2 separate regions of the Homo sapiens genome follow, and region 1 is linked to region 2. The links are contacts of gene promoters, found by promoter capture Hi-C in human tissues and cell types (Jung and others, 2019). All regions are on one chromosome and are shown on one strand. Each heading gives the region's core, a stretch centred on a gene start or on the middle of the fragment in contact. The rest is flanking DNA. Distances are from core to core; before and after follow the strand shown.

What was found. Contacts are between HindIII fragments. The study calls those that stand out against the background at their distance.
Region 1: a fragment that was not itself captured here is called in contact with the fragment with the promoter of XKR3 in region 2 in 2 of the 25 tissues and cell types used here (dorsolateral prefrontal cortex and mesendoderm cells).

Annotation. Positions count from the first base shown.
Region 1 is chr22:16,879,901-16,884,318 of GRCh38, reverse strand. No RefSeq gene overlaps it. Among named protein-coding and RNA genes, the nearest start is that of XKR3, 57 kb to the right of the region's middle. The HindIII fragment of the contact is 4,101 bases long and covers 934-4,418 here.
Region 2 is chr22:16,823,459-16,827,614 of GRCh38, reverse strand. It overlaps XKR3 (XK related 3), which reads left to right and starts at 2,204. Exons shown (of 4, transcript NM_001386955.1): 1 at 2,204-2,324. It also overlaps the pseudogene HSFY1P1. The HindIII fragment of the contact is 14,808 bases long and covers 1-4,156 here.

The DNA of each region.
Region 1 (4,418 bases), core at 1,735-4,234, 56 kb before region 2:
GGGCAATTATTCTGCCTAACCCAAAGATACACAACTTGCAGATATACAACTAGTTCATGGAGATGAAACATTTTCAAATCTACAAGAAAATGTTTTCTAAAATGAGCATTTCATATTAGACTTTCACGAGCACTGTATCAGAATTATATTTACTTCATAATGTTGCCAATACTGATATCAGATATTTAATTTTCTAGCCAGTTCAGGATAATGTGAATTGTGAGTAATATATTTGTTCATTCAGTCAACAAACATTTTTTATCAGATACCACCGATATGCTGGACAGTGTCATGGATCCTAAAAATATAGCCGTTATTATTTTTTTTTAAACAAAGTCCCCACTGTGATAAAGCTTTTATTCTTTGGGACAGGCAGACAGTAATCCAGATAAATAAGTGCAAGGGCAAATTGGGGGAAAAATTGGAATGGAGAGCTCAGAATCTGGCCCCAGAGAAGGGCAGAGGGAAAGGGGACCCAGTTCAGAATCTCGGTGCGTCCACACGAAACAATTCCATGAGGGCTGAGGAGACAGAGCTGAAAGGCTTGTCTGACATCACAAGAGACAGAAAAGTAAGCCCCATTTTCATCTCTATCCTGACAATGTTCCTGGCTTGATTTCCTCCTTCCAGCAGACACAAGAATCAGGGAGCGCACCCTGATGGTAACATTTTTTTCAGGGGCCTATTTTGGGGATCCTGGTGAGAACCTGAGTCCGTCACTGACCACGGCAGCCCAGCATGCTCCCCAGTGCGTGGCCCAAGGCCAAGATTCTCTACCTCCATCCTGGAGGCAGAAGAAATGTCTGGGGGAAAATGAGAGGTTTTAGGTGGTTGGCACTGGGTGAGACCAAGGAGAAATTTTAAAGCTGTGTGTCCTGGGGCCGGGGGCGGTGGCTCACGCCTGTAATCCCAGCACTTTGAGAAGCCCAGGCGGGCAGATCACGAGGTCAGGAGATTGAGACCATCCTGGCTAATGGTGAAACCCCGTCTCTACTAAAAATACAAAAAATTAGCCGGGCTTGGTGGCGGGCGCCTGTAGTCCCAGCTACTCGGGAGACTGAGGCAGGAGAATGGCGCGAACCGGGAGGCGCAGCTTGCAGTGAGCCGAGATCGCGCCACTGCACTCTAGCCTGGGTGACAGAAAGAGACTCCTTCTCAAAAAAATAAAAATAAAATAAAAATAGAAAATAGAAAAAGCTGTGTGTCCTTTGTTTCTTCATATTTTGCAGATTTTTGATGTCAAAATATTTTCATAGTCAAAAGAGTGTTAATAAAGAATGACTTCTCTGTTATAAAAACCCTAATAGTGAATGTATTTACCAAGAAGTTAGATTCTATCTTTGGTTTTTTGTTTTTTGCCCCGTAGTTTAAAAAAAAAGTTTTATTGTATGGATATTCTACAGTTAGTGTATCTATTGATGGACCTCTTGATGGACATTTGGTTTGCTTCCAGTTGTTTTTGCTATTTCAAATAAAGTTGCTACGAATGTTTGTCCAATCGTTTGGACATAAGCTTTCATTTGTCTTGGGCAAATAAGCAGGATTTGAATGACTAGGTGGTGTGATATGTTTCACTTTTTTTTTTTTTTTGAGACGGAGTCTAGCTCTGTCGCCCAGGCTGGAGTGCAGTGGCGCGATCTCGGCTCCCTGCAAGCTCCGCCTCCCGGGTTCACACCATTCTCCTGCCTCAGCCTCCGGAGCAGCTGGGACTACAGGCGCTCGCCACCACGCCCGGCTAATTTTTTGTATTTTTAGTAGAGACGGGGTTTCACCGTGTTAGCTAGGATGGTCTCGATCTCCCGACCTCGTGATCCACCCGCCTTGGCCTCCCAAAGTGCTGGGATTACAGGCGTGAGCCACCGCGCCCGGCCAGTTTAACTTTTAAAGAAACTGACAAAGTGGCTGTATTTCCAGCAGCAGTGTATGAGCATTCCTGTTCCTTTGTGTTCTCACCAGTGTTTAGTATGGTCAGTCTTTTAAATTTTAGCTATTCTAATAGGCATGTAGCAGTATCTCATTGTGGTTTTAATTTACATTTCCCTAATGAAGAATGATGTTGAACATCTTTCAATGTGCTTACGTATCATCCATCTGTATTCTATGGTGAAATGTCTGTTCAGATCTCTACATTTGTGTTAGACTATTTGTTTTCCTATTATTGAGTCCTGAGAGTTCTTTGTATGTTTTGGATGACAAATGTATCTTCACCAGATATAGTTTTGTAAATTTTTACTCCCAGTCTGTGATTTGTCTTTTTATTCTCTCGATAGTGTTTTTCTTTTTCTTTCTTTCTTTTTTTTTTTTTTTTTTTTTGACAGAGTCTGGCTCTGTCACCCAGGCTGGATTGCAGTGGCAAGATCTCGGCTCACTGCAATCTCCGCCTCCCGGGTTCACGCCATTCTCCTGCCTCAGCCTCTCCCAGTGGCTGGGACTACAGGCGCCCGCCACTACTCCCGGCTAATTTTTGGTATTTTTGGTAGAGAGGGGTTTCATCGTGGCCTAGATCGCCTGACCTCGTGATCCACCCGCCTCGGCCTCCCAAAGTGCTGGGATTACAAGCGTTAGCCACCGTGCCTGGCCTCTGGATAGTGTTTTTCACAGGTCAGATTAATTTGTATATAAATCATTTATTTTATTTTTATTATGTAAAATTTTATAATTTTTAATTTTATTTTTAATTTCCTTTTTAAAAGGTAAATAAAATATTAAGTGTAATGATGCAAAATTGTGTTTAAAAGTAAATGTATATGAAAGTGTTGATATAGACTAAAACATTGAATAAGTAAGAAGGTAGTTAGTTGTCACAGTAGGAGTGAAGTGCAAAGCTTCCCCTTTCACCCTCTGAAGATTACCCGAAATGAACTGACCAGACACAGATTCATAAAAGAAAGGGTATACAAACTTACTTCACCTGCAAAACCATGAGAGCTATACACAAAGTATAAGACTTGAAGATGGCTCAGATCTTAAACGCTCTCCTCATAGGCGATAGATATATAGACCCAGGATGCAGACAGTATTTTGTAAATAATTTCCTTTGGAAGCTGGATGGGACAGACAAATTACGGGAAGGCGAGAGATGGACCTGCACAGGAAAAAAGTTTGTCTTTGTCACTTTAATCTTATCATTACTAGAGAATATTTATGAATATTTTAGAATAATATATTTTTAAGCCCAAACCTCACCAAATGTTTTTTCTAAAACAAATACTTTTTGTTGTTGTTTGTTTGTTTTTGATACTGTGTCTCACTCTGTCACCCAGGTATGGAGTGCAGTGGTGCAACCATGGCTCACTGCAGCCTTGACCTCCTGGGCTCAAGTGATTCTCCTACCTCAGCCTCCAAGTAGCTGGGCTACAAGCATGCACCATCATGCCCTGGTAATTAAAGAAAAAAAAATTTTTGTTAGAGACCAAGTCTCATTATGTCACCCTGGCTAGTCTTGAACTCCTGGAATGAACTGATCCTCATGCCTTGGCTTCCCAAATTATTGGGATTATAGGTGTGAGCCACAGTGCCTGACCACATATTTCTATACTTCACTGAGGAAAGGAAGGTGCTAGGAAAATTGGTTAAGAACTATTTTTTAAAAAGCTATTAGTAGTGTTTTATTTTATTTTATTTTTTAATGATTGAGTTTTGAGATTGGGATCTCACTATGTTGCCCAGGCTGGTTTCACATTCCCAAGTTTAAGCAATATCCCTGCCTCAGTCTCCCAAGTAGCTGGGATGACAGATGTGTGTCACCATACCCAGCTCCATTAGTAGCATTTTTAACAATTGTGGGCCACTGAGAAAGAATAATTTTTTTTAAATTAAAGGTTATTTTTTAAAAAGCACATTTGTAGAAAATTACTAGCATAATCTGCCTAAAATAAATATACATATTGAAAAAATGTTTCCTCTGAACAAAAAGAAATATATTCACCACACATACACACATACACACACACGCACACATGCACACACGCACACACACACACATTGTGGAAGATTTCAAGACCAGGCAATAATTTCCACTCAATCCAAAAACAATGCAATCCCAGAGCTGAATATTTAGGTGAAAAATATATCAGGAATGGGAGGCATTCAGGTTTAATTTTCATGTTTTGTTAGAGTTAGGATGTGAGTTTTCATTTAAAAATATTCTTTATTTTTTTTGCTACTATTGTGGTTTCTATATTGTTACTATACAATCTGTAAACTAAATAGTAAAGGAGAGAAAAGTGATTTTCAAAGAAGCTGGCTTGGGAACAGGTACTATTCTGGGAAGATGAAAGGTTTCACTTAATGACTGGTACCTGTGCCACTCTGGTTATTTTAACTGTTAACCTTTTAGCAAGAGGTTTTTCTTTTAAAAGACATCCTTTAATATTTGGGAAGCTAGTGCAATAGTACACATTGAGGCCCACATACCA
Region 2 (4,156 bases), core at 955-3,454:
CTTTTGAACCAGTTGATTCATCTTTAGGAGAAACATCTTGAGTTTCTGCAGAAACATGTGCCATCTCAAATAAGTAATTCTTTAGCGACTTTTCCAGCCTGCATGTGTTTCAAGACTGCAGCTTCAAATGCTGCTTCAGTAGTCTACTCAGGTAAAGTAATTGAGATCACCACAGTGGTTTCCAACCTGAGTAGCAATGGCATCACAAGAGGACTTTGGTCACCTAGCAACAAACATAAAAATTTGGCCAAGACTGTTTACTTTCCAGTCTCAGAAATGTATCTGGTAAAAATAAAATATAGAATGATTACTTACACAGTTTATTCTGCAAAAGTTTCATGCCTGCAGAATCTTTTAAATTAATAAGGAGGGCCAGGCATGGTGGCTCATGCCTGCAATCCCAGCGCTTTGGGAGGCCGGGACAGGCGGATCATGAGGTCATGAGTTCGAGACCAGCCTGACCACCATGGTGACACCCTGTCTCTACTAAAAATACAAAAATTAGCCAGGTGTGGTCCATGTGCCTGTAGTCCCAGGTCTCGGGAGGCTGAGGCAGAAGAATCGTTTGAACCCAGGAGGCGGAAGCTGCAGTGAGCTGAGATTGTGCCACTGCACTCCAGCCTGGGCAACAGAGCAAGACTCTGTCTTAAGAAAATAATAAATAAATAAATAAATAAATAAATAAATAAATTAATTAATATCCTCAATCCCTGAAATAAACATAATTTTCTCCTTGACACACACAGTCTTACTAGATTGGTGCGAGGAGCATAGGGCCTGGTAATTGGACGGTGCAAAAAAATAAAAATAAATATTTTAAAAACTCTCTCAGCTTGGCATGTTGGATTGAAAACTGATGCAGTGTAAAACATATATGGTAAAAAGACATGGCCATATAGACAAAAGGTAGGTTAATGGTTGTCAGGGGCTGGGGAATAGAAAGAACTGTTAAGTAGATAATGGGGTTTCCTGTTTGATGATAGAAATGTTTTAATAATATAATTTTGAATAATGTAATTTTGTATTATGTGAAACATACCTTAAAAAATTAAAATAAAATCAAATATGAATAAAACTGATTAGATTTCAGAATAAAAAGTTATTCATGTATGTATCTATTCAAAACATTTTTTATTCATATCATAGAATAAATAATACTTTCATTTGGTATGTCTGTAAATATCTGACATGTTAATTATGTAAGATTTTAAAAGCAAGTGACCTACTTATAAGGAGATCCCAAAGAGTGGGAGATTTAAAAATGTAATAATAACAAGAAAGTGTTTTAAGTAAAGTAAATTTGTATGTATGTCTAAGCAGAAAATTTTATTATTTGGTTCCAAGAGCCAAATATCTATTTAAAAAATATTTCTTAAGGAATAATCTCTGTGTCCTGCAACGTAAAGTTATCATTATAAAACAGGAGTCAAATTTGTGAATTAATCTTAGAATTGAATAAAATATTTCTTCTCTTTGAAAAATAATCATGCCCCATTTACAGTAAGAATTTTTATATGTTCATGCTTGAGAGGTGGTATATTAAAATTCTAATGCCTTGGCTTTAAGTGTTGAATATGTGTGGAATAAAAAAATAATGATTTTGATATTTCTTATACTGTAGGAGGCAGTTCTCTCATACTGGAAAGAGGTGTCATTGTTAGAAGCTTGTCTTGGTTTAACATAGTTTAAGTTTTGGGGGTGTATTTTGTTTAGTTCAAAATTTTCCATATTAGCAGTAAGTAACAAAAATGTCCAGATCAGAAAACTCTTTGTGAAAATAAAACAGGTGCTCCTACCAGATGTGGTTCATCAATTTTGACAGAATTTTCATTTAAAAAAGGCAAAATTAAAATTTGTTTAATTGTTTGCTTTCTGGGGAATTTTCTTGTTGCTCTGTCTGAAGGAAGTACAGACTTCTTTTGTGATGGGAGGGGATGAATGGCTACTAGACAGCAGCAAAAGATGGGCCATGGGTGCGAAGAGAAGAGGGAGTTAATGGGAGAATCAGAAAAATATCACCTTAAATGTAGGACAATCGAAGTCAAATTGTGGCTGAGCGTTTTGGGGAACTAAGATGTGTGACTCTGTAGGGAGGAAGAATGCCTTGGTGTTTTCAAGGGAAGATGACTCAGCTAGTGCAGTCACCTGACTCCAAACTGCAAGCCTACTTTAGTCATAAAAAGGCAAGAAAATAAGCAATTTTACCTGCAAAGCAAAGGACGTAGTGTTGAAAACGAGACCAGAAATGGTGCTGTTAAAGAGGTGAACAAAAGCATTTACTTTTTGAACGAGTTTCAAAACTGTGAGGGTGGCAAATAGGCAAGGTAAGTAGGAGCAGCCCTCGACCATCTCAGATCAGCTTCTTCAGCCTACCTTGACCTCTGCCTGTCTCAGCTGGGGATCTTAACATAAATCTCTGGATATCAGGGGTGGCTTTTCCCGAGTCTTGAGCCTAGAAACTCCCTCTCTTGATTCTGATTTTCAGAGAAGAGAAGCAGCTGCTTAGCATTTGGGTGGGACAGTGGTTGTTACTAATATATTACAAATTTCAGCATGTTTTTAAACATCAGAAGGAGAAAGTGCTTCGTATTTAAGTGAAATCTCAAAGGGGCAGAAATCTACCATATTTTTTGTTATTCAGATGCAGTGATGCACTGGCTATGTGAGTACAAGAAACAAGTTCACTTAATCACAAACACATGCCTAAATTCCATTGTTCAGTGACTTCACTTTCACTTTCTACCTTGAATTTTAGACTCTGGAAGACCCATTTCTAAACTCTGTGGCCCTTTTCATATGTGCATATTTTCATAAGTGTTTTCCAGAAATAAATTATAGAGGTCCTTCTGTGAGTCCAAAGGAGAAGGAAGTGGTTGGGGCAGCCAGAAAGGTGCAATCTGCATTAATATCATATTCGATGTATGGATTGCTGGGGAGAGAGTGGGATATATTTCTTATAATGTTGGATGTATTTTTCCCCTATCCTGAGGCCCAGAAACTCTGATGTCTCTGCAGTTGTCTTTCCATGCTTTCCTTTATACCCCTCGCCTACTTCTGTAATTTCTCTCTCTACTCTCCCTCCTCCTTCCCACCCTTTTTCTTTCCATTTGTGCTCTCTCCCTCCATTCCTTCTTTTTCCCTTTTCTTTCTTTTTGTGGGTATCTGGTAGCTGCAACTTATTTTCTTTCTGCTTTTCTTACTCACTTACTCTATTTACTAGGTATTTAACAATTGTCTTTAAAAGTAACATCCTTTCTTTCTTAAAATTTTATCCCTAATGGACATTATTTGGGGAAAAACATTTTTATGGTGCCTCTAGATAAGTAATTATATCATCTGCACATGATTCCCGTATTTTCTTACATGCCCGTTCCTCGTAGGTGGAAATGGGTACTTCATTGTACTCTTCTCTCTTTATTTACAAGAGTGTTTTTTCTGTCTCATCCCTTTAAATAACACATTGTCTCTCTTTTTGTGACATTGAATTAATTAGGTCAGATGCGATTTTTCTCATCTATTCATTTGAAGACTGTTTCATATTGCTTCTAGGGCCTATTTGCAAGCAACAAATTATTTTGTTGTTGTTGTTGTTTTGTTTTGTTTTTTAATTTTTGGACCATTTGTCTCATCACTCCAACAAGCAAGAATTAGTTCTCATCATTAAGATCCCTTCAAGATTTCATTCACTTGTTTCAGCAGCCTTGAATTATCATCACCTGGACCTGTTGTTACATCAAGAATCTCTCATTTCTAATGTTCTACTTTGGACACTGTTACCTGTGAGTTTGTTTACATTAAAAAAAAAAAACCTTTTAGTACTTGAGTACCCTAAAGTTTCATATTTTGAATTGGTGTCAGATTTATTATTATTGATCTCTCCATTGCTGGAGAAAACTAAGCAATAGGTAAACTCTATTCTTTTGGTAATTTGTATTTTCTGAATGTTTCACAGTAAATGTTTACTAGTCTTGTGATGCTGCAAATTGGCAATCAGATATATTTTAAAGTGACAAGGTTGCCCTGTTCATCACCAGTTCTGTACATCACGCAGATCAAAAGTAAGGTGTTTAAGTTTATTTTAAATGTTTTTCCCAAAAATTCTGCTTCCACCACTTTTCCAAGCTCTACCAGATGGATACTCAAGAATTGACCAAGG